Regions from separate parts of the Homo sapiens genome. Here regions 1, 2 and 4 are each linked to region 3. Evidence: promoter capture Hi-C in 16 types of primary human blood cells and fetal thymus (Javierre and others, 2016). All regions are on one chromosome and are shown on one strand. Each heading gives the region's core, a stretch centred on a gene start or on the middle of the fragment in contact. The rest is flanking DNA. Distances are from core to core; before and after follow the strand shown. Region 1 overlaps RPL15 (ribosomal protein L15). Region 2 overlaps LRRC3B (leucine rich repeat containing 3B). Region 3 holds the start of TOP2B (DNA topoisomerase II beta). Region 4 overlaps UBE2E1 (ubiquitin conjugating enzyme E2 E1).

What was found. Contacts are between HindIII fragments. The CHiCAGO score rates a contact against its expected background, and 5 or more counts as called.
Region 1: a contact is called between a fragment that was not itself captured here and the fragment with the promoter of TOP2B in region 3, in 3 of 17 cell types (total CD8 T cells, non-activated CD4 T cells and naive CD8 T cells). The highest score is 7.5, in total CD8 T cells.
Region 2: a contact is called between a fragment that was not itself captured here and the fragment with the promoter of TOP2B in region 3, in 1 of 17 cell types (fetal thymus). The highest score is 6.4, in fetal thymus.
Region 4: a fragment that was not itself captured here is called in contact with the fragment with the promoter of TOP2B in region 3 in 6 of 17 cell types (total CD8 T cells, activated CD4 T cells, naive CD8 T cells and 3 more); the score reaches 11.8 in total CD8 T cells.

What each region holds. Positions count from the first base shown.
Region 1 is chr3:23,920,976-23,924,602 of GRCh38, reverse strand. It overlaps RPL15 (ribosomal protein L15), which reads right to left. Exons shown (of 4, transcript NM_002948.5): 4 at 3,614-3,627. It also overlaps a transcript of NKIRAS1 not described here. Among named protein-coding and RNA genes, the nearest start is that of RPL15, 5.7 kb to the right of the region's middle. The HindIII fragment of the contact is 3,602 bases long and covers 1-3,155 here.
Region 2 is chr3:26,707,935-26,711,898 of GRCh38, reverse strand. It overlaps LRRC3B (leucine rich repeat containing 3B), which reads right to left. Exons shown (of 2, transcript NM_052953.4): 2 at 1,123-2,386. The coding sequence starts at 2,226. The coding sequence ends at 1,447. Among named protein-coding and RNA genes, the nearest start is that of LRRC3B, 87 kb to the right of the region's middle. The HindIII fragment of the contact is 2,847 bases long and covers 1,147-3,964 here.
Region 3 is chr3:25,663,657-25,667,600 of GRCh38, reverse strand. It overlaps TOP2B (DNA topoisomerase II beta), which reads left to right and starts at 2,694. Exons shown (of 36, transcript NM_001330700.2): 1 at 2,694-3,372. The coding sequence starts at 3,304. MIR4442 (microRNA 4442) reads left to right here and starts at 2,662; the gene lies at 2,662-2,728. RefSeq lists enhancers at 2,394-2,957, 3,915-3,944 and silencers at 3,125-3,484, 3,439-3,627. The HindIII fragment of the contact is 4,216 bases long and covers 2,049-3,944 here.
Region 4 is chr3:23,808,392-23,812,417 of GRCh38, reverse strand. It overlaps UBE2E1 (ubiquitin conjugating enzyme E2 E1), which reads right to left. Exons shown (of 6, transcript NM_003341.5): 3 at 908-958. Among named protein-coding and RNA genes, the nearest start is that of UBE2E1-AS1, 3.5 kb to the right of the region's middle. RefSeq lists a silencer at 1,506-1,825 and an enhancer at 2,296-2,355. The HindIII fragment of the contact is 658 bases long and covers 2,147-2,804 here.

The DNA.
Region 1 (3,627 bases), core at 105-2,604, 1.7 Mb after region 3:
CATGGTGCAAACCCGCCTCTACTAAAAGTACAAAAAAATTAGTAGTGGCGCACACCTGTAATCCCAGCTACTTGGGAGGCTGAGGCATGAAAATCACTTGAACCCAGAAGGTGGAGGTTGCAGTGAGCTGAGATCGTGCTACTGTACTCCAGCCTGGGTGACAGAGACTCGTCTCAAAAAATAAGAATCTCATGAGCAGAAAAATTATGAAGCATAGGAGAAATGAGCTAGCAGCTCCTTCCAATTTATTAATATAGCATGGTACATAAGGGAGGGGGGATTCTCTGATAGAAAAGTGGAAAGCCACTGTAAAGCAAACATAAAAAACGCTTTTAAATGTACAAATAATGCTCAACTTTATTTATTGAATTAGTTAGGGCTAAGCTAGGCTATGCTGCCATAATAACAAAACACAACTAATGCAGTCGTTTGACACAATAAAATCTTACCACTCATGCTGTCTGATGCGGTTGAGCAGCTTTCACCCATCTTGTATTAATAGCTATGCTATCTGGATCACTGGCTTCCACAGTTGTGGGAAGTGTGGAGGAGGCATACCAACTGTTGTTTTTCTTGGAGGGAAGTAATATGACCCCAACCTAAATGCATGAGAGGCCAGGAAAACAATGTAGTTTAGTTGTGTTTTCAGGGGGAGAAAAAGCTATGGTATGCACATAGCTTTGCCTCTGCCACACTCAGAATGCAAAATAAAAGTAGAGAAGAGTATCATTTCCCCCTAACAGACTGGCAGATATCCCAAAATTTGATTACATACATTAAAGAGGGTGTGGATAAACAAGTCCTCTCCTACTTTGCTGGTGGTAGTGAAAATTGGTTCAACTTTTATGGAAGACAATTTGGCAATATCTATAAAAAATTATATACATACAATTTTTAACTCTGCCATTCTACTTCTAAGAATTTATTCTACAGATGAATAAAGATGTATGCACACATTTTTCTTTTTGTAATAGCAACAGATTGGAAGAAATTTAAATGTCCATCAGGAGGGTCCACATCCAATGAATCATGGTACATCCACATGATGGGATACCATGCAGTTATACCAAAAGAATGAAGTTCCAGCCGGGCACGGTTGCTCATGCCTGTAATCCCACTACTTTGGGAGGCTGAGATGGGCGGATCACCTGAGGTCAGGAGTTCGAGACCAGCTTGGCCAAAATGGTGAAACCCCGTCTCTACTGAAAATACAAAAATAGCTGGATGTAGTGGCAGGCACCTGTAATCCTAGCTACTCGGAGGCTGAGGCAGGAGAATCGCTTGAACCTGGGAGGCAGAAGTTGCTGCGAGCCAAGATTGTGTTACTGTACTCCAACCTGGGCTATAAGAGCAAAACTACATCTCAAAAAAAAAAAAAAAAATGAAGTTCCTCATGAGCTGATAAAGAATAAGCTCTGAGATACATAACTAAACAAAAAAATCAACAATGTGTATCATATCCTACCACTTGGGGAAGAAAAGGAAAAAATACATATGTAGGCCAGGCACCGTGGCCCACATCTGTAATCCCAGCACTTTGGGAAGCAGAGACAGGAAGATTGCTTGAGCCCAGGACTTTGAGACCAGCCTGAACAACATGGTGAAACCCTGTCTCTACAAAAAATACAAAAATTAGCCTGGCATGGTGGTGTGCACCTGTGGTTCCAGCTACTCGACAGGCTGAGGTGGGAGGATTGCTTGAGCCAGGAGGTTGAGGCTACAGTAAGTTGTGAACGCGCCACTACACTCCAGCCTGGGCAACAGTGAGACCCTGTCTCAAAATAAAAAAATATTGTTAAACTGATCACCTTGCCTCCAGGGAGAGGAACTAGGAGGCAGAAGGGTTTGTACTGTAGAGCCTATACTTATCTTTTGAATTTTTAACGTTAATGTATTATCTATCAAAAACTTTAAGTTGGCCACGTGCAGTGGCTGACACCTGTAATCCCGGCACTTTGGGAGGCCAAGGCGGGAGGATCACCTGAGGTCAGGAGCTCGAGACCATCCTGGCCAACATGGTGAAACCGTCTCTACTAAAAATACAAAAATTAGCTGGGTGTGGTGGTGCGTGCCTGTAGTCCCAGCTACTCGGGAGGCTGAGGCAGGAGAATCGCTTGAACCCGGGTTGCAGTGAGCTGAGATCGTGCCACTGCACTCCAGCCTTGCGACACAGTGAGACTCCATCTCAAAAAAAACCAAAACAAAACAAATAAACTTTAAGTGTATAGGATTTGAATTCAGACTGTCACTGTATGACTTTGAGCAAGTTGCTTCATCTTTGTGTTTCCTCATTGGCAAAAAAGGATTAATACTAGTAACTGCACCTTTTGGGATTGTAAGAAACCAATTGTTATTTTTGAGACAAGTTCTGGCTCTATCACCCAAGATGGGAGTGCAGTGGTGTGATTTCGGAGACTACAGGCGTGCAACACCATGCCCAGCTGATTTGTTATTTTTTGTGAGATGGGCTCTCACCACGTTGCTCAGGCTGCTCTCTAACTCATGAGCTCAAGCCCACCTTGGTTACCGAAAGTGTTGGGATTGCAGGCGTGAGCCACCGCACCCAGCCAATTGTTGTTATTACTAAAGTAAATTTGGGCCCGGTGTGGTGGCTCATTCCTATAATTCCAGCACTTTGGGAGGCCAAGGCAGGATTGCTTGAGGCCAGTAGTTTGAGACCAACCTGGGCAACATAGTGAGATCCTGTCTGTACAAAAAATAAAAATTGGGCTGGGGGTGGTGGCTCACGCCTGTAATCCCAGCACTTTGGGAGGCCAAGGCAGGTGGATCACTTGAGGTCAGGAGTTCGAGACCAGCCTGGCCAACATAGTGAAACCCAGTCTCTACTAAAAATACAAAACTTAGCTGGGCATGGCAGTGTGCGCCTGTAGTCCTGGCTATTTGGGAGGCCGAGGCAGAAGAATTGCTCAAACCCGGGAGACAGAGGTTGCAGTGAGCCGTGATTGCCCCACTGCACTCCCACCTGAGTGAGAGTGAGACTCCATCTGGAAAAAAAAAAAAAAAAAAAAAAACTCAATAATCAATGTTGCTGTGTGAATTACATGCCAATATAGAAATAGTAAAGCAAATGGGAACAGCTTGTGGGGCGGTCAGGGTATAGCTAATAAAGTGACCCTTAATATTGGAGTAAAGCTTTCCCATCATAAAGGCATTAGGAAGTGTTTGGTGTATTTGAAGAACAAACAGCAAGGAGCCTGGGGTGTGGACTGCAGTAGGACATGAGGTCACACATAAAGTGGGAAGATCATGAAAGCTATCATGAGGACTTTTGATTTTTTTGCACGGGAGTGCCATGATCAATTTAATAGGATCCCTTGGACTACTGTGTGGAGATAAAACTGTTGGGTAGCAAGGACAGGAACAAGGTTTTCTTGTAGAGACAATGCTGACCTTTGGCCCGAACCCTTTCTCTCCTTCCCAAATTAGTCATGTTTAAGGATTTTTTTTGTTTTTAGGTCTCACTATGCTGCCCAGGCTGGCCTCAACAAATCCTCCAGCTTGTCTCCCAAAGTGCCAGGATTACAGGCCTGAGCCACCACACCCAGCTGAACAGTTTTAGATAAAAACCTAATTCATGCAATGATCAAAGAACTGAGAGAATAAGTA
Region 2 (3,964 bases), core at 1,321-3,820, 1.0 Mb before region 3:
ATTAAGATACTCCAAAGAAAGTACTTGGTGCATAGTAAGTGTTCCATAAATGCCATCAGTTCTATTATTCCTTAGTCTGGAACTGAGATCTCTACTATATAGTTCCAGCCTTGTTTCTCACTTCTTTGCATGGACTCCTTCATCCCAAACACCTCCCTATATGGTATCCCTCTGCTTCTTCTATCTTCCTTGTCTACATCATCACCTTATGAGATCCCACCCAAGTTTTAAAGATTATCTGTAATGGTACCTTAAAACCAATAACTTCCACACAATTCCCTACTCTTAAGAACCAAATGTGCTTTCTCCTATCTATCTCTGGCCAATGACAAGGACACAATATCTTGATTGTATGACAGATGCCAGGAGTATATATATTTTAAAACTCAGAACTGTGTACTTAACCTAGGTGCTTTTTTTAACAGAAAATTATAACTATAAACCAACTCAGTAGGAACATAATGTGAAGACCTTTCTTTGGAGACAGAAAGATCTGATTCAAATTTAAGAAGTTCTAATACTTTCTACCTGGCAACTCAATGAAGCTCTCTTACTTGAAGTTTTTTCCTATGTAAATAGAGCAGCTGTCACTTTCTTCTCTTGTTGTGAGAGTTTACAGGACACAATAATAGCATAAAAATGCCTCTCACAGTGCTTGCACCCTGTTGATGCTACATGATTACGAGGACCTTCCTCCCTAGCATAACCATTTCTGTATTTGTCACACACACCTCAGTCCACCAGAAAGTAATCTTGAGTACAGGCTATGTGCTGTCTTTTTCTTTTCCATTTTGTCCAGCATAGAGCAAAGGTACAATAAGTAAGTATTTGGATTCAATAGCTAATTATATCTATTTTTGAAGAGTAAATGCCAAAAGGCATCCTGACTTAAGCCTCTGAAGGATGCCACACTTGTGTATAACCACCTAGTAAAGCTCAGTATTTTAGAGTCTGACAGACACTTAACTCGGCCAGTAATTCAGCTACGGCTCCCCAGTGTACAGTAGGGCTTAATAACACATTTTTTCATTGTGATAGTTCTTTGAGTTCATAAAGGTTGTCTGTTTTTCTTTAGAGCAAGTAGAATGACTATACTGTTTTCTTGACCAATAAGTCACTCTGTTTTCCATGGTTCAAAGTTAAGCTTTTATTTGCTTTTAAATTAAAAAAATAAATTTCATTATTAAATAGTGAGATGGATCTAACTAATGTTCAGATAGTAGCTTACTCAGAAATATACCATCGGGGGTACAATTAAGGGGTGGATCACCTAAACTCAAATTATTTATGTTGTAGTGTTTGTTAAAAGTTCAGCAGTGGCATAATTCAAAAGAAACTGAAATACAAAGTTTCAAATGTTTACAATGGATGGGAGAAGTAAACCACTTATTTCTACTGCAATCGCAAACTACTTTCTTTCTTTCTCAATGACAGTCAGTTTGGACACTATACCACAGTGCTAATATCATCAGGTTCATCTGCTTTCTTCTGCCTGCTTGGCAGGGATTTCAAGTATTCGAGGTGTCTCCGGGCATCCTCCTGATTTTGCCTCACATAATATACCACATATGAGATCACCATAGTGAACCAGCCAAACATGGTGACCAGCATGGCATAATCGGTAGTTTTTTTAGGGAGGTTACAAAGGTCAGCGTCGTTGGCAGCATTGAGGAATGGTCTGCCAGCATGTTCATCCAACACGGACGTTTTACAGATCACGTTGTGGGCTGTCTCATGATTGGACGCCATGCTCCTCAGAACTTGCTGTAGAGTACAGTCGCAGTGCCAGGGGTTGTTGGCAATTCTGGCCCTGGCCTTCAGGTTATTGAAGGCATTTTTGTGCACACTTTGAATCCGATTGTCGGACAAGTCCAGAGTCTGCAAGGTTTCAGCTACTCCTTTGAAGGCATGCTCATCGATAAACTCAATGCCATTTTTGGACAGGTTGAGAACTCTCAGTTGATGGAGGTCCTTAAAAATTTCATTGGGAATAGATGTGATCTGATTGGAGTCCAGATACAGTAAGACTGTTTCAGGAGGAAGATCTCTAGGTATTTCCTTGAGATTTGCATTGCTACAGGTGACATTTAAACCCCCAGAGGAAGAACAAAGACAGCCCTTGGGACACATACTGGCAGAATGAAAGCACAGTATCATAAGAACAAAACTTTGTAGGAGGAGACACATGGAGAGGGAACGGGTTAACCACAGGTCTACCAGATTCATGCTGGAATGTCAGCATAATCACGAGCCCATTCCTCATCTACTCCAACAAGCGTGGTAAAGGTTCCAGCCCTGTCCACACTATTGATTTCCTTCTTGCGTGTTTCAAAAGGCTGCAGCTAACACATGTGTCTCTTCATTATTTCTTTCCTTGCTTGGGCACCTAAAGGAAAGAGAAACAGATGCAATTAGTTCCTTTGCAAAGGGAGGTACATTGTAATGAAAGGTGTTCTCAGGTGTCTGGCATTCTGCTTGAGCAGGGGGGTTAGTTATGCAGGTAATTTCCATCAATGCCACTGGGAGTTATCTGCGAAATGGGAGTCTCCTGTTCAAATCCCAGGTGCTGGGGGAGAGAACTGTGAACATATGAAGATATTTCTGAGTTCTGTTGCCTGGTTTTCAGTTGGATAGAATGAGAACAAATACTCCCTATTTCTCTGCTGCTCTCCACATCCTGGACCCCTTCGAATTCTACAGAAATAAAATTTAATTATGTCTCTCACCCTTTCTGAGATAACAGATGCATTAATGTAATTTAGTCCTGCACTTGGGCAGCAATGAGAAATAATACCAATATTTCATGGTTAATGACTATAGACAGGGATATCTGTCATGGCTTTTGAATGGATGCCCAATTTGGAATATTGTCTCTAAAGAAACATCTTACTTGAATTAAGAAAATAATAAATGCATTCCAACAAAATATTGCTAGAGGCTGACAACCAAGAACCTCCAGGATAGTTGCCTTCCTTGTGACCTCTTTAAAGTACATTATACCTGGGAGGATGCTTTTAACTGAATTTCCAGAGGATCTTCTCTCTCTTTTCTAAGGACCATATCCCCTTCCCAATAAATGCTTAAATATGGCACACACCTCCATGACTTTTTTATATAACAAGAGAATTAAGAAATACTGTCTTTGAAGACTTCCCCAATAGACTTCACTCTCCATATGTTGCATGTTGCATACATATACTGTTAGTGTTGGCAGGGGCTACAGAAATTGCAAAATTAAGTGATGAACAAAGTTATGAAACTTACTCGACAGCAGAGATAAGAATATAAGTTAACTCTCAAAATTACCCTTTAATATAGAGAAGAAAGCACACATCTTTGGGACCAGTTCACAAAGGAGACAAGTGGATCCCAGAGAGATGAGGTTACTTACCCAAGGTCAAACAGATTGAGGTGTAGAGACAGGACTCAAGCCAAAGTCTTTGTTCTGACTCATTAATATCAAAACTCTTTCCACTATCCACACACTCTCTTCCAGTCTCATCTACTCTATAAGTATCCAGCAAGTATTGCTTATTGTGATTTCTGATGCTGTTATGTTGCAGCCCTATCTTTTATGCTATGAATACTGTTCCAAGTTGAGGACCCCATGGAGCTCAAGTGAGGGGTCCCTCTGCATTTTGTAGGGAACCCATGCCTGACTTAGAAGATTCCCTCCCAGGATCTAAGAAACAAGAAGAGCATTCAGTCCTCTTACAGCAGTGGACAACAAACAACTTTCTGCATGAGCAACTAATGACTTTCTGAAAACTTGTCTTTTATGAAGATCCCAGATGGATAAATACAAAGGGAAATGACTCCAAATGTTACCAAACTCACAGAAGAGAAGATTAATGTGAGCTGAAAACATAATGATCTGGATTGTTAATCATGGAAAAAATGAGATTAGCAACAGCAGAATGGAGCAGACGTGCTTTTGGAAAACTGAGTCGAGTCCCTTAAATAC
Region 3 (3,944 bases), core at 1,445-3,944:
TGTAATATATACATACAAAGTAGTATCTAAAACTAGACAAACCTGATATAGAAGCTTTTTTTTTTTTTTTTTTGAGATGGAGTCTCGCTCTGTCGCTAAGGCTAGAGTGCAGTGGTGCGATCTCGGCTCACTGCAACCTCTGCCTCCCAGGTTCAAGTGATTCTCCTATGTCTGCCTCCCCAGTAGCTGGAATTATAGGCACAGGTCACCACGCCTGGCTAATTTTTGTATTTTTAGTAGAGAAGGGGTTTCATGATGTTCGTCAGGCTGGTCTTGAACTCCTGACCTCAGGTGATCCACCCCTAATTGAAAATTACTTCACATTACCCCAGAAGAGAAAGCTATGCTCAAGTTGCGTACAATCAATTTTATCATAAAGATATGCTAAGTCTGCTGCACAGTTAAAAAGGACAATTCTTTAGAAGCTGAGATACTTTTAATCTAGATTCCGTCTTCCACTCATCACAAATCTCTGCTTTAAAAATGTTGATTTTCATGTATATTCAGCAATTCTTATTTGCAATTCTTCTGGGTAAGTCAGTATTTTCTTAAAACTAGTAACACTTATTAAAAGGCTTTTTCATACTGAGAAGACAAAAGGACTCAATGCCTCACATATGAGGCAAGTGAAAAGAACATTATTTTTATTAATCTATTTGAGTTTTGAATATATTGTTTTATTCATTTCAAAATCTGAACCTAGGCTGGGTGCGGTGGCTCATGCCTGTAATCCCAGCATTTTGGGAGGCCAAGATGGGCGGCTCACTTGAGGTCAGGAGTTCGAGACCAGGGTGGCCAACATGGTGAAAACCCCGTCTCTAGTAAAAGTAAAAAAAATTAGCCAGGCATGGTGGCCGGTGCCTGTAATCCCAGCTACCTGGGAGGCTGAGGCAGGAGAATTGCTTGAACCTGGGAGGTGGAGGGTGCAGTGAGCCGAGATCATGCCACTGTACTCCAGCCTGGGTGACAGAGCAAGACTCTGTCTCTAAAAACAACAACAAAAACGGAAGATAAAGAGCTTTGACAACTTAAGTTTAAAAAAGGAGACAGCTATGTATTTTATAGCTTAGCTTCTACCTAGTACATCTTCATAAAAAAAACTCATTGCCTTTAAAATTACCCCTTTTCAAACAAAATACATGTGTACTTGGAGATGCAAACTCACAGTAAGAACACAAGATCATTTTAACAAGCACTAAACTGAGGCTCAGGGAAGTTAAATAACAAGGCTATGGATACTTGGTCAGGTTCAGAAAAGTTTGCACCCCAAGTTCAAGGTAAAGAAAGGCTTCACTGTTCTGAAGTCCCTAGTATGGCAAAGTTACATGGCCATCAGAGAGCTAATTAAAAAAACTATGTTTAAATTATTTCCATGTTTCAGAGTTCTCCACCTCTAGACTCAGAATGCAGTTTAAAGATGTGACCTGAGACATTTTTGTTTTCCCTTGAGAGGAAATGCACAGTTGGAAGTTCACAAAAACACCTCTTCAAAAAACAGTAATACTGTTTTCATCTTTATAAAAAGCTTTCATCACAACTCTTTGGTGGCACTTCATGCCTTCAAGTACTCATTTTGGTGATCGTTGGCTCCCTTTTAGTCTGTCTCACAAGCCAGGTTATAAATGGTTTGAAATCAGGGGCCTTGTTTTTACTTTGAACCCATCGCAGAGCCTGGCACAGCGTGGCAGAGTGTGCGCCCAATAAATACTTGAGTGGAATTACACTGAAAAACAGGAAGAAGTAAAGCCATCTTCCATCTGCCAAAGACTGTGATGTTGCTGTATTGGTAATTTTCATTCTTAGAAAGCTTTAATGTGAATGAAATTATTCCTTACTGTGCATTTGAAAATTCCACTGAAAACAGTTTTAAAAATTAAGCATGCCCTCTTAGAGGCAGGGGGCACAGTTCTGGACAGATGAGAAAAGTGACAGTGACATCTCTGCATTGTTCAGAGAAGAAAGGTCAACAAAGAGTAGAAATAGAACACTCAACCCACCCTGCATTCTTTCCCTAGAACATTCTCTGTGTGTCCCTTATCATTTAAGCTTTTCATATGTAGTTTTCTTGAAACTGACCATATGCTCTTTTGGGGTGAGGGGAGGAGACGGAAGAAGGAGATGGAGAAGGTCTGAGATGATTTTTTTCGACAGCAGCGTCCACTTAGGCCCTTGGGGAGGCCGGGTCACGGGGCCTCCTTGCACCAGTGGTCTACAACGTCTTGCCTGCGGTTTACAACCGCTCTTTTAAAATAATTTCCCTTTGGGACGGCCCCCGGCTTCTTCCTGCCACCCCCATCCCCACCCCGCCCCCATCCTCATCCTTAGAGGCCCCAGGCAAACGCTTCGGATTCCCGGTTAGGTCTCAGAGTAAACAGCACGCTTGGAGGATTACAATCGACCCGAGGCCAATTCGACCCTTTCCCTTTGCCGCCCTCAATTGACCCTTGAAGCAGCCCCTGCTCTCCCTTCAAATGGAAAACCCACAGACACACACACAAACAAAAACCCCAAGTCTTCCTTTCGGTTGCTACCCGCAATGACGTTTCCCCCCTCGGGTCCCGCCCCTCCAGGGGGCTTGGAATTTTGGGATTGGCCGAGAGGCTGTGGCGACAAGGCCCGGATTGGACAGCATGGCGCTGACTGACAGCGGGGGCGGCCGCCGCGCCCTCCCTCTCTCCCCGGTGTGCAAATGTGTGTGTGCGGTGTTATGCCGGACAAGAGGGAGGTGACCGTGGCGGCGGCGGCGGCGGCTCTGTTTATTGTCCCTCTCGGTGTGTGTGTGTGAGGAAATCGGGGCTGCAGCGAGGCTAAGGCTGCCTTTGAAGCAGCGGCGGCGACCGGGACGACTACTCTGGCGACTCGAGTGGCTGGCCTTCGCGGAGTGTGAGAAGGACAAGGCACCTCTGCGTCCTCGCCACGTCCGAGCGCCTCGGGCTCCCCGGCCGCCCTCGCGGCTCGCACGCCCGGGCTTCAGCCCGGCCTGCAGCGGCGCCCGCGGGCGGGCGAGAAGGCAACGCCGCCGCTCGGCCGCCGCCGGTCGCTCCCTGCTTTCTCCTCAGCCGCCGCGCTAGGCCCGGGCGACGCGGACGCCGCGCCTCGAGTTTGAGGGCAGCCGGCGGCGCGGCCTCCTCAGCGGGCTCGGCTGGACGTCCGCTCCGGATCTTCGCGATGGGGCGCGGGGGTCGGCGCGGCTAGGAGTGCGGCGAGTGGAGCGGTGGGTGCGGAGCGGCGGGGCCCAGCGGCCCGCAGGGAGGCGGGAGCGGCGGCTGCGGCCTCAGGGCCTGTGAGCTGGAGGCACTCGCCATGGCCAAGTCGGGTGGCTGCGGCGCGGGAGCCGGCGTGGGCGGCGGCAACGGGGCACTGACCTGGGTGGTAAGTGGCTGGTCCCCGGGACGGGCGGCTGCATTGTTCCGGGCCCGCGGCGGGGGCGGAATTCCGAACGGGCGGGGGAGGGGAAAGGGAGGGAAATCCCGTCCCCCGAACGGGCGCTCCATAGGGGCCTGTGCTTGCAGAATCCTCCAGCCCGCTCCCCGCGCCTTTTCTTTCTTTCTTTCTCTGTACGTCTCTGGAAGTCCTGACTGCCAGAGCGTAATGTGTACTTGAAACTTTGGGGGGACAAAACCGCGAACGTAACATACAGCCCCCGCTTCCTCTCTTTTCTTTTTAACCAGACTCTTCCGGGGCAGCCGAACCTGAAATGGTGGGGATGGCGATAATGCAAGTGTGTCTGTGTGGGGCAGCATTTTCTCCAAATGTAGTTCAAGAAAACCCTGGGAAAAGGGGTGTGTGTGTGTGTGTATTCTAAATGCAGCTCTTTCTGGGGCTTTAATCTCAAAGAAGAATGCATTGGGATTTCTACAGCAACTTGCACTTCAATTTGGAAAGCCTCATTCAATGCGCTCAATTGAGAGCGCATTGGGGATGACTTTCACAGCAGTTAATAC
Region 4 (4,026 bases), core at 1,226-3,725, 1.9 Mb after region 3:
GCCGCTGAATACTTTGTCAGTAACTTCTACTCCTACCAATAAGTTTAGAGTATTTCTGAAATCTCACATCCCTTTCCAACGCCGATCTTGAGAACTAGGTTAAATGTTATACTTAATTTTTAAAGTATGGGAGTTACAGGACCTCCCTTAAATAAATGGTTCTATTCTAATACATAGTTGTAAGTTACCCTCACTTCATTGTTGATCTAGTAAAGTCATCAAGTCTTCCACCTTGACTCAACAGTAGCAAAATGGCTTCTCTAAATAAAGCTGTGATCAACAAACCCTTAGAAAGCTGGTTTCAATTTGTTTTGAAACTGAAACACACATATGTATACAGTCTGAATAAAGCAAGTGAAAAAAACACCCCATGAAAGTTTAACTCTACAATTTAAAAGAAAACCTTTATCAAAGCCAGAAATTGTTTCCTGAATTGCTCTGCCAAAAGTCTAATAAAAAATCTATATGCTATGGAGTAAGTTTGAAGATCCAGTGTTTAACTCTAATGTTCTCTTAGCTTAGCAGAGATTGAATAAGAGATTACTGTAGCAAAGCAGTTTTCCAAACCAAAATGTCCTTCGCATCTGAAAGGTTTTACATCATCTTTAATGGCATATCAAAGACCCATGATTAGGCAAGGAGACACCTTTAAATTTACTTTAGTTTTGTTTCATATATGTAAAAATCCACTCCAAATAAATCCATTACTTCTTCTCAACAGTACTGAGCTTGTCAGAGGCTCATCAAAACATTATACTCAGGTTAATAAATTTCAGCTGTTACGTGATGTTAGTGCCATAACAAGCATTAGCCAAAGAATCAAAGAAAAAGTATATAATAAAAAGAAAAACCCAAGACAAAGGTTAGAAGAATTTTAAAAATGGAAAAAATCCGAAAAGCAACTCACCTGCAATTAGGTGGAGGGTCTAAAGTGATGTCCGCCAGCTCCTTCTGAATTCTGGAGTGGGAGAAATGGGAAAGACAAACACAAGAAGCATTAAGGCGCGGAAGCCTCCCACCTGTAGCGTGCAGGTCTGCAGATAAACCTAAGCGCGATCACTGGATTCTACTGGGCAAAGAGGAACTACACATCAAGAACTTCAGGTCCCTAGTTTAGGAAAAAAACTTTTCACGGAGGAAGTGAGGCAGCCTGGAATCTCCTGTTCTCATCTGCAAAGTTTGGCTTCCAACCTTGCCTCGCACACCAGGGCAGTTCTATTCCTCGGTGTTTTCCATGTAGGACCTAATTTTAAAGTTTCTCACTTGCCGACCGGTTTCCTCAGTCCCTCCCCTGCACCTCTCCCCAGCACGGAGAGATCACAGCCATCGGTGCGTGGGAAGGACGCCAGCCTCCAGCCTCCCTTGCCCCTTTCACCCCTCAGATGCCCCCATGCCCACCCCGGCAGGGCGCCCCCGACAGGCCGAAGGTCCGAGGCCTCGCTCAACACCCGACCCGCCCGGAGTCCTCAGTGACGAAGCCAACATGGCCGCTCCCCACGAGGCCCCTCGGGCCCGAGTGACCTGCCAGCCGTGGCGGGGTGCCCGGGAGGCCCAGACCGCAGGTCGCTCCCCAGCGGTGGGCTGCCACCGCCCGGCCACGCCGCCCCCACCCCGCGCGCGCCCCCGACGGCTCGCGCCGCGCCGGTGAAGTTGCGGGCGGGGGAGGGGAACAGGGTGCCCGCACGGGGGCTGCTCCGCGCCGCCCCAGCTCTCCTCTCCCGGCGCCCAGAACCTTGGCCCGAGACCGCGCGCGAAAGCAGGGCGCGAACACCCCCGCCCGCCACTCGGGCACCACAGACCCCAAGTGGCCGGCCCGCGGCCGCACAGGTGCACCGGACCCTGCCTCCGCCCCGCACGCTGGCCGGGACTCTCGGCCCACCTCCCCGGACCTGCTTTTCCCCGGGCGTCCTCTAACTTCCCGGGGTCTGCCCACTTCCTTCATGGTCCGCTCTCTAGCTCACACTGGGGATAGACTGGAGACCTGCAGTTTTCTCCCTCCGCACCAACCCTCGACTTCACAAAGGGCCCCATCCCCCACTCATAGGCCGAAGCCACCAGGCAGTTCACACCAAGCCCTGGCCTTTGTCTTTTGCTTACCTAGGCACTTAGAGCATCAATTAATACGACAGTTTAGGGCCTCTAAGCTTCTTCCACCTTCTAAACGGTGCCTAATTTTATAACCTTTCCTCCTCCTATCATATAAAGCCCAATGGGGCTATGTTACAACTTAAAAATCTCACCGAGGCAGCACTGTAGTTAAAAAAATTTTAAACACACACACAGAGCAATCTAATTCACAAAGGATACGTTTTCCTTTCCAAAGGTTTTCTGCGGGTAGGAGGACGGACGAGCTATATGTAATGAGGAACAGGTTTTAAGGACGACGACTGGGGGAGGTTCTATAAACCTTCCTACTGGAGGACATTTCCTGTCCCTACGTATCTGTCAACTTTAGAAAGGGGTTTGTTCACAATCTCAATTGACACGTATTTGTGTCCTGCTAAATTCTACTATCAAAAAGCGTTTCATTTCTGAGACATTCATACTCCCGCTGTTTGACTCATGACTGTACATTAGACTCAAAGTTTGGAAAATTGGTTTCCTGATTCTTTACCTGAATCTTTTCAAATAACTGTATTTTAAGACCTACACACGTAGGCAAAAATTTCCTCCCCGGAGCACAACGCATATAAAAATACATATTGACTTCAGTCCTCCTTGCCAACCCAACTCCCACTATAAAATAGTCACAAAAAAAGGTAGTTGTTTCTTTAATACCTAAGAAGCGTTAATACCAAAAAGCTTTATCAACTTCATCTTGACAGACAGCATTTGCATTTCCAAAAAACTGGCAAGAGATTTGCAGGAGTAACTCATACCTATTTCCAGAGAGTCATTCTTGTTCAGACCACTTGCAATGGGGGCTTTCCTCTACCCACGGTTTAGAAACCACTTTCCAACATGCAGTTAGCAGCCTGTTAGTCTGCCAATTCAGGCTTCTTTTTCACTCCTACTCCTGGTGAATGTGCCCCTTCCAATTCTATGGGCAACACCTACCTTCCAAATCAATATACTTCACAGAACAGCCTCTATAGGGTCCCACTAACATCAATTTTCCCCATTCTCTTTCCTGGATACACTGTCCCTCTCCATTTTTTTACCTTTTTCTATTAACTTTAGGTCTGCTTTAACACTAATAGCTACTCTTTCAGCAAGATTATCAAGGAGCTAAATTCATTGCAAAAACAAAACAAAAGCCCTGATGTTAATTTATAGGTAAAATTACTATTTGTAGCTTCCCACCTTTCATTTTTCTACACCTATCATCTCTTTTCCAGAACTTCCAAATAAATTCTTAACTTGTTTAAAATAAACAAAGTATGTCTAGTGAAAAAAATCCCCCTCTCTGTAATTCACTCACAACAAAAGCAGAGTATTTTCTATTTGATACCTGTGTCTTTACCCCCAAATATATTCATGTACACCAGGGATATCTAGCAAAATATAAAAATGCAAATTACCAAAAGCAAGTATCCTGGCTTGAGCACGTGAGGCCAAAACGTGAATGAGGATCAGAGAGCCTAGAGGATTGAGGTGGGGCGCAGTATTAAGGAAGGGCCCGTCCCAAGTGGGCAGAGTAGATGTCAGGTTCCAGGAAAACCGCACAGGGCTAATCAGTGAGGGTCAGTCAGGCCTCCTGAGAAGCTGTACAATCAAACCAAACCTATAAAAATGAGAACAATCTTGCAGAGGCACCTTGCCACTTAAGACCTCCACACTATTTTTTAAAAGTCACTCCTTCATCAGCCCATGGTTAGGTCACCAAAACACTGCCAAGTTTTCAAATTACAAGTCAGGGAGAATGACAGAACAAACTCTCAAACCCTGACTTCCAGGCTCACTACTCAGTGGAGAGATCTAAAGTCTCATGTTCTACTTTATTTTAAAAATTTTTAAGAAGGGTATCCCTATCCCATCATTTGGAGTTCTTACTATCTTCCTGGTTTGCCACCTTTTTAACAACTG